Linked DNA regions of Homo sapiens: region 2 is linked to region 1. The links are contacts of gene promoters, found by promoter capture Hi-C in human tissues and cell types (Jung and others, 2019). All regions are on one chromosome and are shown on one strand. Each heading gives the region's core, a stretch centred on a gene start or on the middle of the fragment in contact. The rest is flanking DNA. Distances are from core to core; before and after follow the strand shown.

Evidence for each region. Contacts are between HindIII fragments. The study calls those that stand out against the background at their distance.
Region 2: a contact is called between a fragment that was not itself captured here and the fragment with the promoter of FMO1 in region 1, in 3 of the 25 tissues and cell types used here (adrenal gland, bladder and mesendoderm cells).

The regions. Positions count from the first base shown.
Region 1 is chr1:171,244,631-171,250,544 of GRCh38, reverse strand. It overlaps FMO1 (flavin containing dimethylaniline monoxygenase 1), which reads right to left and starts at 2,051. Exons shown (of 9, transcript NM_001282693.2): 1 at 1,922-2,051. It overlaps FMO1-AS1 (FMO1 antisense RNA 1), which reads left to right. Exons shown (of 5, transcript XR_922278.4): 2 at 2,818-2,964. The HindIII fragment of the contact is 7,695 bases long and covers 1-5,305 here.
Region 2 is chr1:170,971,833-170,977,746 of GRCh38, reverse strand. MROH9 (maestro heat like repeat family member 9) reads right to left here. Exons shown (of 22, transcript NM_001163629.2): 8 at 5,864-5,914. Among named protein-coding and RNA genes, the nearest start is that of MROH9, 39 kb to the right of the region's middle. The HindIII fragment of the contact is 4,244 bases long and covers 1,492-5,735 here.

The DNA.
Region 1 (5,914 bases), core at 802-3,301:
AGTCAGATTGAGTGTCCGCTTTGGTTTAGTAGGACAGTAGATCATGAGAGGTCAAAACATGAGGTGACGCCTGTCATTACCAAACTGCAGCGGCACTCTGAGCTATTTTAAAATTTTGAAGAAGCACAGTGATTCTTGATGTCAGTTGAACACTATGCTAAGTATTAGCTGAAAGTAGTTAACAGTTTTAATATTGTAAAAGACTGTGTTCCATTTGCTGACATCATATCTTTGCAAAGCTGGGTGTTTGACAATTGCTATGACAAAAAGCAAGTATTGCATGAAAACTGAGGTAGAATAGAAATGAAGGGTTCATGTCTGATCTGATTCCAAGGTTTGAGAAGTTGTGCAGTGCTCAGCAGGCACATAAACCTTATTATTAAGTAATTGGGATTAAGAATGAAATAAAAATATTATTTTTCTTTTAGTTTGTATATTACTTGTTCAAAAAACTACAAAGTTGTTAGAACATAAATAGTTATTAAGTTTTTGTCTACTTAATAGGAGAAACTATGGTCTGGGGGCACCTTGAAGAAATTGCACACCAAGGGCTCCTTGAACCTAGAAAGTTGAAAACTTCTGGGCAAGAGTTTTATTTTCCGAGTTTATTTTATTGACCCGGAGATTTTATTTGTTGATGTCAAGAAAATGCATATTATACTATATTTGAGGCTAGCATTGTATCAATTAGCCAATGTTTAACTGTTTCCAGTGTGACTCACCTATGCATTTACTAGGAAGCCATTGGCACTGTCAGATTTGTATCCAGCCCTCTATTTATGCATTCCCCATCTTCTCCTCCTTCCCTACTCCCTCTGTCTCTCTCTCTCACACACACACATACACACACACACACACTCCTACACCTTAGTGCATGAAAATACTTCAGAATACTGGTTGGCACAGACTGCACAATGATACCCTATCCTCAAGTGGGTTGTGACATTTCAGGAGTAATCAGAGAGAGATTCAGCTGGATGGCAGTTGGGGTGGGTGAAGGTGCCTACTTAGCCCCTGGGAACAAAGGAGCACAGCTGGTAAGAAACTTGGGTCCAAGGAGGGCCATACTCTGGGATTTCTGTCCTCTAGCAGCAGCTCCTCATTTACTCAAATGTTCCTAACCACAACAAGCAAATAAAAATTCTCCCAGGCTTTAGGTCCTCTGTGCCAGTTACAAGGCCATAGCAGATTCCCTAGGATGCAGGGGAAACTCTAATAACCAAGGACTCAGTTTCTCCATCTGCAGAACAGATGGCATAGACCTGAATATCTAAAAATGATTTTCAAACCCTTGATGTTTATGATCTTGTGAATTTAACTGGAGCAGGATTAGTAAAAAAGATGTGCCAATCACATGGAAATCAATAAATTTTGACATAATACATAGAATGAAGCACGAAACACTTTTAACAACAGAAAAAAAGATGACATGACAGAACAGATTAGTCAAATTCTAAAGGGGCTTGCCTTTTGCTTCCCACTTGTGCCAAATGCCAACATTTGGTAGTCACCCTTCAAAAACTATGATCTCAGACAATGTTAGAAGCTGCTGATGGAAGCACTAAAAAAAAAAAGAGACTTTTCCTCTTGCATTAGAAATCCAAGTTTTTCCCATTTGATTCAACCACTTAATAATCTACCCAACAGTATACTTACCTGTGTACATGGAAGACAGGTAAGTATACTGCTGGGTAGATTATTAAGTGGTTGAATCAATGATATTGTCCCATTATAAGTATCCAAACATTTACTACTCCTATACTTTGGGCCAAGGAGTAGCTTTATAGCTCCTCCAGGGTTGGACAGAGAAAGCTGCTTTCTGATAAGGTGGTTCTTCCCTGGAGCACAATAACAAAACAGGAAAACTCCAGACCCCACTTTCCTCATCCAAAGAAATCAGAGATTATATCTGGTTACTTACTTTACGTACTTGTAATTTCTGGTGCCAATGGCTCTGCCACGCAGGACTCTGGTATTAGCAGAGATCAAAATGAATCAGTATGAGCCAGTGCTGGCTTGGGAGTCCCCAGCACAGTGGATAAACCTGGTCTAAGAGATAAGGAATGTTAAATTTGAAACCCAAGGTTAGCCGTTGTTTATATTTTAACTTGTTGATTAATGCAACAGCGAAATGCTAGGAGAAACACTGTCTGGTGATATGTACTTTAGACTCACTCTTCTGCTTACAGACTATAAACTAAGTTAGGGAGTTACACCAGCATCCTCACTTGTTCATCAGTTTTATTCTTTAAGGGGATGAGAATAAAATAAGACAATTATGTTAACAGTTACTACACCACAGATTCACTTTTAAGGGCTTTGATCCATTTCACCTTTAGGGACAATTATTATTTTTAAAAAATCATATATTACTCACATTAGTAAACTCAATTTGTAAAGGCTTTTTAAGTGCAGCTGATTGCCCAAGCACTTGGGAAATAAAAGACAGGTATATGGGAGGAGTCTGATCTTGGGAATCACAAGTCCTGGGTTCGAGTATTGCGTTCACCAGCTATTATCAGAGTCATGTTGGAAAAATTGTATAACTTTTCTCAGCTTTAGTTTCCTCAATTTAAAATAGGCATGATCGAGTGGCTGCCAGGGGCTGGGGAAAGAAGGGAATGGGGAAGGATTGCTAATGAGTATGGAGTTTTCTTTTGGGTGTGATGAAAGTGTTTTGAAACTGGATAGAGGTTGTGGTTACACAGCATTATGAATGTACTAAATGCCACTGAATTCTATACTTTGAAATGGTTAACGACAGATTGTTGGAAAATGGTGGATAGGAGGCAGGACTAACTTGCAGTTTCCACGCAGACAGACAGAACAGCATGTGGAGACTCACACAGTGAAATTTTCCTCCAAGAAGTACTGCATGAACATACCAGGAAAACCAAAAGAATTCACAGGACCTTTGAAAGAAGTGGCTTGCCGCTGCAAACTCCATGAGACAGCTGAAAAACTGTGAGTGCCCAAAGTGTGAGTGGGGGAAAAAATCTGCCTCCAAACACGCAAACCCACTAGGGAACCTAAAAATCCAGATCACAGGAGAAGGATTTAACCTTACCTAGAGCTGGGATGAATTTAGAGAGCAAAACGAAATATAAAAGTAGAAGCAGTGGGAAGAGCCCTGTAGGTACTCTTGGTGCCCAGGGAAGTCATTTCTGACTTTATCTCACAGGGGTCCTTGAGGAGGGCTGCCAGTGAAATTGAGGAAGGACCACAGGGAGAAGGAAACTTCCAGCTGAACTTTGTAATAGTTTTGACTATTAGCCTGAGAAACACGAATACTTATCCAGGAGACCTTAGGGCAATCTTGCATTCTCCCTATACTACCGCAGCTGATGCTGTCTTGAAAATGAGGAAAAGGAGTCATTATACAAAAAAGATACTTGAACACACTTGTTTATAGCAGCACAATTTGCAATTGCAAAAAATGAAACCAGCCAAAATGCCCATCAATCAATGAGTGGATAAATAATTCGTGGTATATACATACCATGGAATACTACTCAGCCATAAAAAGGGATGAAATAATGGCATTCACAGCAACCTGGATGGAGTTGCAGACCATTATCCTAAGTGAAGTAACTTGGGAGTGGAAAACTGAACATTCTATGTTCTCACTCATAAGTTGGAGCTAGGCTATGAGAATACAAAGGCATAAAAATGATACAATGGACTTTGGGGACTTGGGGGTAAGTGTTGGAGTGGGGGGTGATGCATAAAAGACTACACATTGGGTATAGTGTACACTGCTCAGATGATGGGTGCACCAAAACCCACAAATCACCATTAAAGAACTTATCCAGGTAACAAAACACCACCTGCTCCCCCAAAAGCTATTGAAATAAATAAAATAAAAAATTCTAAAAAATAAATAAAACAGGCATAATAACATCTGCATCAGATAGTTGTGGTGGGGATTAGATGAGATAATCTATGTCAAGAGATTTGTGTATATATAGTAAATACTGTGTATGATTGTAATGATGATAATGATGATGATGATGATGCTGTCATTGTTGGACCAGATAAGGTGTCTTGATTGCTGGTTCATAACACTGAAATGACTCCCACAGGTACAGAGAATAAATTCCATGAGAGGTTGGTGGACTGAAGCAGAGAGAAATTTCTGAAAGAATATGTCTTTTTCCTTGATTTTCAACATGGTATAACCCTTTGACCTGGAGGTCCTGTGTATCACTGAGTATACTGCTTGCTCATTGGGCTCACCTTTTGCCTCATTTCTGGCTTATTAAGTATTCAGCACAGAGACAGCATTGTTAGCTCTGTGAAATTCAGCTGCTTTGCTGCAGCTATGAAAATAATAATATTTGGATGATTTCAAGCTTAATTATACCCAGAGAGTAAGCCTTTAAAATGACTATTAGTTCAAGTATGTTTTCAAAAATCAGAATATGTTTGATTTGTAATTTACCTTGGTGTGCAGCATATACACATCAAGGTAAGTATGTAAGTACTGGGATTTGGTACACTAATGGTGGGACTTAACTTGTCCCTGGGCCTTACCAGGCATGCTGCTAACATAAGGAGAATCACAGGACTTTAAACTGTTGGTTGAGAATAAGATGATGATTTTATTATATCATCTCATTTTCCATAATCAGCAAGAGACTTGTAGTAATTAAAAATGAGAAGACCGGCCTTCGGTGGCAACTTCAGTTTCTGCTATTTTTAGGGATTTTTGTTAGTCAGTTATACTCTAGGCCATGGGATAAGGAAGGATATGTAGTCCCCTTATTCGAGTGGACCTAGACCCTAAGAAGCTGAATTGGTAGACAATAATGCTCTTTAGGAAATATTCTGGACCTCCTACCTTCAGGGAAGATGAATGGTAGGATTGTTCTTCTTGGCCCTCTAGCGGTTGGTTGGGAGGAATGTGACTCGTTCTGGTCAAAGAACTGTGAGCTAGAGTAAGGTGTCCTTTCTGGGCTAGAGCACTTAATTGCCAGTAAGATTCCATAGAACTTTCTTTTCCTTCAGTGTGGTAATCAGCAACTTTCAAGATGGCTCTTCTATTAGTCCGAATACCTGGTGAATGTGATGAGCAGGGCCTACACTAATGGACACATACATGAAATAATCTTTGTTTTATTTCAAGGTATCGAGGTTTGGGGATTGGTTGTTAATGCATCATACCAAGTCTTTATTGATCAATGCACTAGAGGGATGTTTCTTAGCTCCTTCATTGTATTTCTCAATCATCTTCTTTTTTAAAAAGTATATTTTTTATTTCGATAGGTTTTTAGGGAGCAGGTGGTGTTTGGTTACATGAAAAAGTTCTTTAGTGGTGATTTGCGAGATTTTGGTGCACTCATCACCCAAGCAGTGTACACTGTACGCAATGTGTAGTCTTTTATGCCTCACCTCCCTCCTGCCCTTTCCCCTAAGTCCCCAAAGTCCATCGTATCATTCTTATGCCTTTGCATTCTCATAGCTTAGCTCCCACTTATGAGTGAGAACATACAATGTTTGGTTTTCCATTCCTGGGTTACTTTACTTAGAATAATGGTCTCTAACTCCATCCAGGTTGCTGCAAATGCCATTATTTTGTTCCTTTTTTTATGGTTGAGTAGTGTTCCATGGTGTGTGTGTGTGTGTATATATATATATGTATCATAAATTATTATCCACTCATTGATTGATGGGCATTTGAGCTGGTTCTATATTTTGGCAATTGCAAATTGTGGTGACGTAAACATGCTTGTGCAAGTATCTTTCTTGTGTAATGACTTCTTTTCCTCTGGTTAGATACCCAGTAGTGGGATTGCTGAATCAAATGGTAGAACTACTTTCAATTCTTTAAGGAATCTCCACACTGTTTTCCATAGTGGTTGTACTACTTTAAATTCACACCAGCAGTGTAAAAGTTTTCCCTTTTCACCACATT
Region 2 (5,914 bases), core at 2,364-4,863, 270 kb after region 1:
GGGGAGGAAACATAAACCTTGAAATCAACCCAGAGTTGTGGTAGGCATCCTGGAAGTGCCAAGCCATGATCTATAGCCAACACTTAAGTGGGAAAGGAGCCCATGCTTTCGGGGCACTGAGAAGAAGCACAGCTGCTACTGTAAGGAAATATAGGGGAGCCACAACTGAGCAAGAGTCTACCAACTGATCACTGTGCCTAAGTGCCATTGACCAGACCAGATCACACCCTAAAGCTTCAACAACAAAATATCTCACTAACATACCCTACCATGAAACCAAAGATGAGAAGTCAGATACAAATACAGACCCTGTACAAGGCTCAGTCCTGTGAAGACATCCAGAAAGGAAGTCTACTGACTATACTCAATCTCCACTGCAGTTAAAGGGATACCCTCATGCCGAACTGAGAAAGAATGAGTAACTCAAATAGCTAGAGTGTCTTGTGTCCTCCAGATGGCTGAAATAGTTCTCCAACAAGGGTTCTTAACCAGGTTGGATTGACTGAAATGACAGAAATATAATTCAGAATATGGCTAGGAATGAAGATCATTGAGATTCAGGAGAATAGCAAAACCCAGTCCAAGGAAACTAAGACTCACAATAAAATGATACAGGAGCTGACTGATGAAATAGCCAGTATAAAAAAACCTAACTGGCCTGATAGAGCTGAAAAACACACTACAAGAATTTCAAAATGCAAATGCAAGTATTAACAGCAGAATAGATGAAGCTGAGGAAAAAAATCTTGAAACTTGAAGACTGGCTCTCTGAATTAAGGCAGTCAGAAAAAAAAGAAAAAAAAGAAACCAGAATGTAAAGGAAAGAACAAAACCTCCAAGAAATACAAGATTATATAAAGAGGCCAATTCTATGTGTTATTGGCATCCCTGCAATAGATGGAGAGAAAGCCAACAACTTGGAAACATTTCAGGATATCATCCATGAAAACTTCCCCAACCTTGCTAGACAGGTCAACAGTCAAATTCAGGAAATACAGACAACCTCTGCACAATTCTACATCCCCAAGACACATAATCATCAGATTCTCCAAGGTCAAAATAAAAAAAGAAAATATGTTATCATTTTTTTATATGCCTCAGCCTCCTGAGTAGCTGGGATTACAGGCACACACCACCATGCCCAGCTAATTTTTGTATTTTTATTAGAGACGAGGTTTCACCATGTTGGCCAGGCTGGTTTCAAACTCCTGGCCTCAATTGATCTACCCACCTCAGCTTCCCAAAGTCCTGGGATTACAGGTATGAGCCACCATGCCTGGCTTCAACATTCTTAAAAAAAAATAAATTCCAACCAAGAATTTCATATCTGGCTCAACTAAGCTTCCTAAGTGAAGGAGAAATAAGACCCTTTTTAGACAAGCAAATGCTGAAGAAATTCATTACCACTGATCTGCCTGATAAGAGCTCCTGAAAAGGGCACTAAATATGGAAAGGAAAGACCAGTACCAGTCACAGCAAAAATACACTGAAGTACACAGACCAGTAATACTGTAAAGCAATCACACGAACAAGTCTGCGTAATTAATCAGCTAACATCATGACAGGATCAAATCCATAAATAACACAAACCTTGAAGGTAAATGGGCTAAATGCTCCAATTAAAAGGCACAGAGTGGCAAGCTTAATAAAAAACAAAGACCCAATGGTATGCTGTCTTCAAGAGACCCATCTCACATGTAATGACACTTACAGGCTCAAAATAAAGAAATGGAGAAAAACCTACCAAGCAAATGGAAAACAGAAAAAGGCTGGGGTTGCAAACCTAATCTCAGGCAAAATAGACTTTAAGCCGACAAAGATCAAAAAAGACAAAAAAGGGCATTTACATAAATGATGAAGGATTCAATTCAATGGGAAGACTTAACCATCCTAAATAAATATGCACCCAACACAGGAGCACCCAGATTCATACAGCAAGTTCTTAGAGTTCTTCAAAGAAACTTAGACTCCCACACAATAATAGTGAGAGATTTCAGCATCCCACACAATAATAGTGGGAGTCTTCAACATCCCACTGGCAGTATTAGATCATTGAGGCAAAAAAGGTCATTTTCTTAAGTGAAATAACTCAAAACAGAAAGTCAAATACCACAGGTTCTCACTACATAATGTGTACACATGGGCATACAGAGCAGATTAATAGACATTAGAGACTCATAAAAGTGGGAAGGTGAAAGGGGAGTGAGGGATGAGAAAGGACCTAATGGGTAACATGTACACTATTTAGGTGATGCTTACTACTGAATATATCCATGCAACAAATCAGCATTTGTACCCCCTAAATCTATTCAAAAAAGAATTGTTATGTCTCCTTAATTAATCGATCCCTTTATCATTATGAAATGACTTTCTTTTCCCTGGAGGCATTCTTATCTCTAAAATATATCTTTTTATAATAATAGAATATAGCCACTCCAATTTTCTTTTTATTATTGTTAACATGTTATATCATTGTCTAACTTTTAACATTTAATTCATGTATGTTTTATATTTAAAGTGAGTTTCTTGTAGGCAGCATATAGTTGAGGCTTGCTTTTTATTCAGTCTGACAATCTGCCTTTTTACTTGGGGTATTTAGAATATTTACATTTATTATGATTGGGTTAAAAATTTGTCTTGATTATTTGTTTCCTATTTTGTGTTATCTGCTTTTTTTCTATTCTTTTTTGCCTCATTTTAAATTATTTTCTATGATTCCATTTTAGCTCCATTTTGGCTTAATATATATAACTTTTTGCTATATTATCTTAATGGTGGCTTTAGGGTTTAGATGATACATCCTTAACTTATTAGTTTACTTTCAAGTGTTATTTTATAACTTTGTGCATAGGAGAAGAATTTTAAAACACATTTATACATTTTTCCCTTTAAGTTTTTGTGTTGTTTTTATATATTTTACTTTTGTTATTATCTTTAAAGAGTTGATTATCATTTAAAGAGATTTAAATAAGAAAGATAAATGAATATTTATCTATATTGCTGAAGTTTTCCAGTGCTCTTCATTCCTTTTTGTAGATCTAGATTTTCGTCTGGTATAATTTCCTTTTCTAAAAGAATTTTCTTTAACATTTCTTGCAGTTAAAGATCTTATGGTAATTAATTCTACCAACTCTTGTATATCTAAAATGTCTTTATTTTACTTTTTATTTTGAAAGATATTTCTACTGGTTTAAGGATTCTAGATTGACTTTTTTTTTCTTTTCTGTATTTTATGATGTTCCTTCATTGCCTATAACTTGTGTCATTTCTGGTGAGAAATCTGCTGTCACCCTTATCTTTGTTTCTCTATATGTAATGTCCTTTTTCCTCTTTGGCTCCTTTTAAGATTTTTTTCTTTATCACTTGTTGTAAGCAATTTAATTATGATGTGCCTTGATGTTCTTTTCTTCACATTTCTTGTTCTCTGCTGAGCTTTTCAGTGTGTGAGTTTATAGCTTTTATTACATTTGAAAATTTTTCAGTCATTATTCTTTAATTTGTTTTTCTGTCCTCACTTTCTCACTTTCAGAGACTCAAATAAAATATGTATTAGGCTCTTCAGAGACTCATATTAGACATGCCTGATAGCTCACTGATGCTCTATTTGTCTGTCATTTATTTCTCTGTTTAAATTTTGATAATTACTATTACTATGTCTGCAAGCTCATTAATCTTTTCTTCTGCAAAGTTTTTGTTAATCCATGCCAGAGAATTTTTCTTCTCAGATATTGTAATTTTTACCTCCAGAGGTTCAATATAAGTCTTTTAGGAGTTTTTCTGTCTCTACTTAAGATGTTTTTATCTTCTAATTCCTTTAATAAGTGGAATGTAGTTATAATAATTCTTTTAATGTCACACTCTACTCATTCTATCATCTGTGCCATTTCTCTATCGCCCAGGCTGGAGTACAGTGGCACGATACCAGCTCACTGCAACCTCTGCCTCCCAGGTTCAAGCAATTCTCCTGTCTCAGCCTCCTGAGTAGCTGCGATTACAGGCACGCACCACCATGCTCAGCTAATTTTGTATTTTTAGTAGAGACGGGGATTCACCATTTTAGCCAGGCTAATCACGAACTCTTGACCTCAGGTGATCTGCCCGCCTCGGCCTCCAAAAGTGCTGGGATTACAGGCATGAGCCACCGTGCCCAACCTAATAATTTTTTTTAAATTGGATTTCAGACATTGTTAATTTTAACTTGTTGAGTGCAGGAACTTTTTTTTTTATTTCTAGGGGTATTCTTCAGCTTTGTTTTGGTAGGTAATTAAAATATTTGGAGATAGTGATACTTTTAGATCTTGTTTTAAGGCCTTTTTAAGTAGCACTAAAACAGTTTAGGATGATTTTTTTTCTCCTAATGAGACAAAACCCGTCTGAGTACTGTACCTCGGTACTTGTGAATTATAAGGTTTTAAATTCTGGCTTACAGGCACAGGCATTATCACTAGCCTTTGTTGAGCACTGAATCTTTTTCTCTAATCATTTTTGTTGTTTCCTACCCTTCAAACTCAGGCAGTTTACTTGCATGCATGTTCTCATTAGTACTCAGCTAAATACTTAAAGGGGGCTCTCTTTAGATCTCTGCAGATCTCGAGTTTGTGGGTTTGTGCGTGCGTGTGTGTGTGTGTGTATGCGTGTGCATGCACTCATGTACTCCGTTCTGGTACCCTGGCCTTTCAACCCTAGCTATTGACCTCTCTGGACTCCCATTTCTGTCTTTTTAACTTGATGAGACCACTGGCTTATCTCTTTTTGTGTTGGCTCTTAGAAATGTACTCTAGGTGGTAAGCTCAGGCAATTACAAACCCCACCTCATTCGTTCTCACCTCCTCATCTTTCAAGAGTCATTGTCCTTTATTATTTAATGTGCAATGAATTGAAAACTCTGTGTGTGTGTGTGTGTGTGTGTGTGTGTGTATTTTTTTTTTTTTTTTTGAGGCGGAGTCTTGCTCTGTCACCCACGCTGGAGTGCAGTGGCATGATCTCGGCTCACTGTAAGCTCTGCCTCCTGGGTTCACGCCATTCTCCTACCTCAGCCTCCTGAGTAGCTGGGATTACAGGTGCCTGCCACCACACCCGGCTTATTTTTTTGTATTTTTTAGTAGAGAGGGGGTTTCACTGTGTTAGCCAGGATGGTCTCGATCTCCTGACCTTGTGATCCGCCCACCTCAGCCTCCCAAAGTGCTGGGATTATAGGCGTGAGCCACTGTGCCTTGCCAAAAACTATGTATATTTTTAAGGTTGCTTACTATAGGAGTGTAAATAGAGTAAATGTGTTCTCTGTTATTACATCCTGGACAGAAACAGAGGCATAGCCTCCATAGACAGAGGCTCCACCCCTTACAAATATACAAATATTCTTAAGCTTTGTTCTAAAATGCAATTAAATTACTTGGAAATAGCTTAATACTTTCAGGTCTTGCTTTTATGCTTTGTTAGACAAGCCACAGCAACATTTATTTTAATCCTAGTCTTATTTTTCTCCACCATTGAAGCAAGAATCTTCTGAGTAGTCTATCAGATACTCAATTAGACAGAAAAAAATACCGCATTTTTAAAGTCCCATTGGTAAACTCTCTCCTTCTCTGTCCTCCCTGGATCCACCCAGCATTCCTCTCCCTACCATTAACCCTCAAGTAATCTAAGCACAGTACTTTATAAATCTTGAAGAACCAACCACACTATTACCAAAATTTCTTGACAATGCTAAAAAGATTAAAAGACACATTTTAGAAAGTATAGCCATGACTCTTGGGGCAGGATTTAGAAATTAACAGACGTAGAGCCTTCCCAGGACCTATAAGTTGAATAACGAGGGACATATTCTTAGTAATCCTGAGAAAAGATGGTGAACTGTTCTTACCGTTCTGACACCGTGCAATGTAGAGGAGGTGACACATTCCCAATGATGCTT